Regions from separate parts of the Homo sapiens genome. Here region 2 is linked to region 1. The links are contacts of gene promoters, found by promoter capture Hi-C in human tissues and cell types (Jung and others, 2019). All regions are on one chromosome and are shown on one strand. The core of a region is centred on a gene start or on the middle of the fragment in contact, and the rest is flanking DNA. Distances in the headings are between cores, read along the strand shown. Region 1 holds the start of NUP43 (nucleoporin 43). Region 2 has its middle 35 kb from the start of TAB2-AS1.

What was found. The method cuts DNA at HindIII sites, captures the fragments that hold promoters and counts their contacts. A contact is called where the count stands out against the background at its distance.
Region 2: a contact is called between a fragment that was not itself captured here and the fragment with the promoter of NUP43 in region 1, in 1 of the 25 tissues and cell types used here (aorta).

Annotation. Positions count from the first base shown.
Region 1 is chr6:149,744,790-149,747,998 of GRCh38, forward strand. NUP43 (nucleoporin 43) reads right to left here and starts at 1,740. Exons shown (of 8, transcript NM_198887.3): 1 at 1,587-1,740; 2 at 1,151-1,273. The coding sequence starts at 1,706. RefSeq lists an enhancer at 2,050-2,109. The HindIII fragment of the contact is 10,037 bases long and covers 1-3,209 here.
Region 2 is chr6:149,221,028-149,224,236 of GRCh38, forward strand. It overlaps a transcript of TAB2 not described here. Among named protein-coding and RNA genes, the nearest start is that of TAB2-AS1, 35 kb to the right of the region's middle. The HindIII fragment of the contact is 6,138 bases long and covers 1-3,209 here.

The DNA of each region.
Region 1 (3,209 bases), core at 490-2,989:
CTCGCCACTGCACTCCAGCTCGGGTGACAGTATAAGACTTCGTCTCCAAAAAAAAAAAATGTATCTTTCCTAGAGCTAGATAGCTTTCTTTTTTATTTTATTTATTTATTTATTTATTTATTTATTATTATTATTTTTTGAGACAGAGTTTCGCTCTTGTTGCCCAAGCTGGCGCACTCTCGGCTCACTGCAACCTCTGCGCCCGGGTTCAAGCGATTCTCCTGCCTCAGACTCCAGAGTAGCTGGGATTACAAGCGCGCACCAGGGCTAGGTAGCTTTCTATGGAAAATGCAGGGGCTCTCCACACCAGGATTTGAAAACTTAATTTCGGCCGGGCGCCATGGCTCACTCCTGTAATCCCAGCACTTTGGGAGGCCGAGGCAGGCAAATCACCAGGTCAGGAAATAGAGACCATCGTGGCTAATATGGTGAAACCCCGTCTCTATTAAAAATACAAAAAATTAGCCGGGTATGGTGGCCTGCGCCTGTAGTCCCAGCTACCCGGGAGGCTGAGGCAGGAGAATCGCTTGAACCCGGGAAGCGGAGGTTGTAGTGAGCTCAGATCATGCCACTGTACTCCAGCCTGGGTGACAGAGCGAGACTCCATCTTGGAAAAAAAAAAAAAAAAGAAAACTCAATTTCATCCCCACCACTCATTACTGGTTTTGAGACTTTGGCCAAGTTAAGTTCACTAAATCGTGGTAAATCTTTAAAACGGGAGCACTAATCTCTACTTAGGGAGTTGTTATGAGAATTCAAAAAACAAAATGATGTTATCCCCCTGCACAGTATCTGTCACATAGTACATGCTCAAGATATATTAGTCTCAATTTTCTCATTAGTAAAACAAAGTAACGATACTTGATTCACTGGCATGCAACAATAATTAATTTTTGTAAAGCTCCCCAAACGGTATTTAGCACATAGTCGACAGTCAATTAATAAAAAAGTATGATTAAATCTACATCCCCTTTCCCAGTCCTTTTTCTGCCACTAAATGGCTAAATGATGTTGGGCAAATCATAACTTACAGAGCACTCAGTTTTCTGTAAACGAGGGGTGACACCAGACAACTTTTATGATGCTCTGCTTGTTTAAATGTATTACTCAGGACTTTCAAAGTTAGCTTTTGGATGCTACACAGATTTACCTGTAAATCCATTACATCACCATGGTGTCTGATATCACACAATAACTGATGGTCTCCTTCAAACCCTCCATCAGAGTCCAAGTTTCCAAAATCTCCAATAGACCACAGTGAAATATAATTTTCCTGTAAAACAGAAAGTTTTGTCTTGAGATGACATAAACGTCAACTCTCGGAAAATAAAAGTTGTGCTCCCGTCCGGAAATGTTGCTCCAAAACATCTCAAATGGTATGGTGAGTTTAAAACACAACGAGATACGAGGCTCAGGCATGCCATCACCGGCTCTGAGCTACGGAGCAACCGCGCCTGAGACAGGGGTCCGGGGGACCTAAAAGTGCGAGAAGAACCAGAAGGTGGGAGTTGGCGCGCGGAAGGCCAGGGGTCAGCTCAACCGGAGAGAGGGAGGAGGTAGGGGCTCGTCCCTATCAGCGGCGATACCTCATTGTCCCAAGATCCTGTAGCGAACGTCTCCGCGGTCTGTAAACTTCCCGGAGGCAGCGGTCGCCAGCGGGTTTTGCTGATTTTCTGGGACACAAACTTCGCATAAATTTCCTCCATGCCGAAAGCGGCCGCAGCAGGTACTGCAAAAAGCAAGCACAGTACGCGCCTCTCAGCACCGCCTCTTCCCGCGGAACCCTGATTGGATGGGACTTTAGGACGGAGACGGTGGCTGCAGAGAGTCAATTCTCGTCGATAGCCAGTGTGGGCACAGTCAGTACCTAGACTGAGAGGCCCACCCATCTCACAGAGCAGCTCTGAGCAAAGGCAAGAGCGCTTTGGCCTTTGAGCAGTAGGACTTGCTCCTAATCTGCAATGTCAGTATTTTCTTGTGTTCAATAATTGTGCAGTGTAAAATTTAAGTGCAAAAACAGAACAAAAACAATGCAGTAGAAACCACCTTGAAACCACACCTAAGCAGTTGCAGGTCACTGCGCATAGAAAACGATTCAAAAATCCTTAAATACTCGTGGAAGTACCTCGAATAAAGTGCCAACCTACTATCCCAAACCTCTCCCTCTTGTCTCCCAAACAAATACTTTGCTTCAAAGTTAATACACACTGTCAGAGCCTGGAGTTGGAATTCTGAAAGACTCCAGTTTTAGTTTTGATGCCAATTGCCTAGCTTTGATCAATTCAATTACGTGCATGATTAAGAATGAAGTTTGTGATACCTATTGTCAACGGCCCAGGAATCAGTTTTCTAGGTTCCTTCTGTGCTTTTGGTTACACCTATAATATTCTTCCCTTCCTCTTTACTCCTCAGAATCCTGCCTATCCTTCAAGGATCTGTTCTTTCCTTTACCATTTCCTGACGACCCCAGCCAATGTTGATCTAAATCAACACCATTTTTTTTCTTTTTTAAGACAGGGTCTCTGTGGCCCAAGCTGGAGTGCAGTGGTACAATCTCAGCTCACTGCAACCTCTGCCTCCGCCTCCCAGGTTCAAGTGATTCTCCCACCTCAGCTTCCAGGGTAGCTGGGACTACAGGTGTGCGCCACCATGCCTGGCTAATTTTTTTTTTTTTTTTTTGGAGAGACGGGATTTCACCATATTGGCCAGGCTGGTCTCGAACTCTTGACCTCAGGTGATCCAACTGCCTTGTCCTCCCAAAGTGCTGGGATTACAGGCGTGAGCTAGCATTTGATATCTAGACCACTAATGACATATATTTTGGATATATCTTATGTTAGTTTTCTTTAGATGCATATTCCTCCCCCATTAGAATGTAAATCCTACTGAATACAAGAGATATGACTTATTCAACTAAAAAATGAAGCTCTTTTACACTATAGGTATTCATAACTGTATGTTGGTTATTTCTTTAAAAAGGGCCATTATGCTACTGTTGTTTTTATGTGATATTGGTAGTCCTACTTCACAGGGACAGTTTACGGAAGCACTGCATGTAAATGCAATCCATCTGGGTCAGCTTTAGAGTTACCAGTTTCCTATCAAGGATTTGACTTTTTTCTTTTCTCCAAATGGAAGATCATCAAGAAACTGTAGAAAGATGAAATGGAAAATATTAAGTGGGTTACAGTCCCAAATCAACAATTTTA
Region 2 (3,209 bases), core at 413-2,912, 520 kb before region 1:
TTCAAGAAAACTGCTGCCATGTAGCCAACTGTGAATGACCACAGTTTGCCTGTCAGTCATTCTGTCAAGTAAAATGGTGCTCCTCAAACAAAGCAGCACGTTTAGCTCACAACTCAACAACCACACAGCAGTCTTCCTCCCACCCACCATGGCACTTATATTAATATAAGCAGCAGAGGTGCTTTATGTATGAGTATTGTGTGAAAATACTCAAAAGACCTGTAACCAAGGGTCAAGATTACTACAATTAATTTCTACTGCTTCCTAAGGGCATTCTTAAGTGACACTAGCATATTTTACAAGCCAGAGTGTAACAATGAGCACAATGACTGCTACCACAGCTTGCTGCCAGCCATTGCCTTGACTTGTCCTAAAACACAGCCATTTTCATCCGCCTCCATGGCTACTGCATCATCAGTGCAAAGTCAACCCAGTAAAAAAGGCAAATAGCATCTCCGTGTTATCATAAAAATAGTTTTGACCTCATGGCTCCCCTTAAAGGGCTTGGGGCATCACAGAGAGCCACTGCTACAGCCAACTGAGAGAGAACTCTCAAAAGCCAGGCTTTTTCTGTCCCTGTCCTTCTCACAGTGAAACACTTAACGCACTCTCTGATTGTGGCTCTTAACTCGCCAGGTAAAAGTCCTTCTGTGTAGTCTAGGAAGAAGGGCAAGGGCAAAGGGAGGACTTTGTTTATGAAGCCTAAGTAGAATATGCTCTGCTAGATAATCAGTCCTGGAATGAAGGAGGGGAGAAGTGAGTTTCTGATTGTCTGAGCCCAGGTCTGATGTTGGGAAATGCCAGCATTCCAACCCCTGATTTCCATTCCCACTACCAGACTTAGGCAAAGTTACTCACCCGTTCTTGACCACATAAATGTATGTGTGATGGCTAATTTTATGTGTCGACTTGACTGGACTAAAGGATGCCTGGATATTTCTGGAAGAGACTAAGATTTGAGTCAGTAGACTGAGTAAAAATTGCCCTCACCAATGTGAGTGATCCTTATCCAATCTGTAGACGGCCCGAATGGAACAAAAAGGTAGAGAAAGGGAGAATTCACTCTCTCTAACCCGGAACAGCCATTCAGCCATTTTCTCCTTCCCTTGGACATCAGCACTTCTGATTCTCTGGCCTCCAGATTATGACTGTGACTTACACCATCGGCCTCTCTGGATCTCAGGCCTTCCAGTTTGGACTGGAATTACACCACCAGCTTTCCTGGGCCTTCAGCTTGCAAACAGGTGATTGTGGGACTCTTCAGCCTCCATAATCACACGAGCCAATCCCTCATAATAAACCTTTCCTGGCCAGGCGTGGTGGCTCATGCCTGTAATCCCAACACTTTGGGAGGCCAAGGCAGCCAGATTACTTGAGGACAGGAGTTGGAGACCAGCCTGGCCAACATGGTGAAACCCTGTCCCTACTAAAAATATAAAAATTAGCGAGGCATGGTGGTGGGCACCTGTGGTCACAGCCACTGAAGAGGCTGAGGCAGGAGAATTGTTTGAACCTGAGAGGCGGAGGTTGCACTGAACTGAGATCATCCCACTGCACTCCAGCTTGGGCAACAGAGCGAGACTCTGTCTCAAAAAAAAAAAAAAAAGAAACTTTTTTTTCATATCTCTATATGTGCCATTGGTTCTGTTTCTCTGGAGATCCCTGGCTAATACACTATATAACAATTACTCCCTTTGAAAATCAGGAACTCACAGATGATTCAAAGTGTGACCTACACTTTTCTTGCTGATGCCTGGCCATAGGCAGCAGCGCAAGACTGTGTCTCTCTCTCAATCTCTCTCTTTCACATCTCAGGTTTCTATGCAGTTAGAAAAGCTACTTTTCTAGAATCACTTTTTCCTAAGTAATCCATATCACATCTGTTAGGAATTACTAATTAATAAGCAAAGTTAACCAAAAAAAGAGAGTATTATAAATCCATCTTTCTATTAGATTGTGATAACTGCCCCCTTCTATTCATTATTTCCTGTACCAAACTCATTTTGTAAACTAAGATCAAGTCTAATAAAAAAATTCTTTTTTGTTAAGTAGCAACAAGCATGCCACATGAAATATTGAAATATATTGAGTTTACAAAAAACAAACTCAAAAGACTATCTTATTAAATTCAAAAGGAATGTTTCTTCACAAAAAGCTTTTTGGGTAAGACAATGAGGATTCACCAGCTCTATTTTATTACAGATACCTGAGTCTGTTTTATGTTTCTGTGGTGGAATTTGGTTCTCAGAGCTTTGTGACCTGTCGATGAGGACATCTCAGTCAGTCTTTTCCAGTACCTCTTTTGTTTGTTTTAGTTTGCAGAATCTGTGCAGCTAAACAGAAATTAAAACAACTGATTTCTAAGACTCGTCCAGCTCTGACATGAAATGATTCTAAGAACCCCTGTGATTTTCCAAATTATAGCCTGTGTTCTTGCTGTCCATTGTCTTGCTATTTTGTAGAGTATGATCCAGATTCCCGGCCTGTCCTAATCTGTTGGAAAATACTTTCAATTTGAAAAGCTGGATGGATAAAAATGACAATTCTCTCAACTCCAGTCCCCATTATGCAGGTTTTCTGTGGCTTTGGGGGTTAAATGCCTGATACAGACTGATTGCCCCTACCGTTTTAGAGAGTTCTCATGTTGTTTCAGCTGCTTATGTAAAAAAATGTTAAGCTGTATTACCATTTGAGTACTTGATTTAGTGATGCTTTCAATGACTGCTTGCATTTTCTGGACATGTAATTCCATTTTTTATATACCATCCCTAGTTTAAACCTTCAAAGCCATATTTTAAAAGCATCAGCAGCTGAGGCTGAATGTAAATATTCCTTTAATCTGGCTGAGACTACACACCTCCCCCTTTAGGAAAAGAAAAAAAAAAACTGTAGAGACTGTCATAAATAACTTTACTTAAGTGAATGCTGAAATTAGGCACCACATTGCTTGGCTCCTAGTAACCTCTTTGCAGCCAGATATGTAGAGTACCCACTGGCCAAAACTTCATCTTTTCAGAAATGGAAAGCAGGGAAAAACAATGTGATCACCTTTTAAAGGGGCATGTTGGACCCAGTTCCAAAGTTCAATATGCCTGGACAGTTCTCAGTGCAGTAACTACAGCTGACCTTGGAAGAAAATGATGTTTATAGCAGCCCATGAGTCGGGAAGGGTGATAATGAACGAAATGTAATCATGTATTCCTGGCACA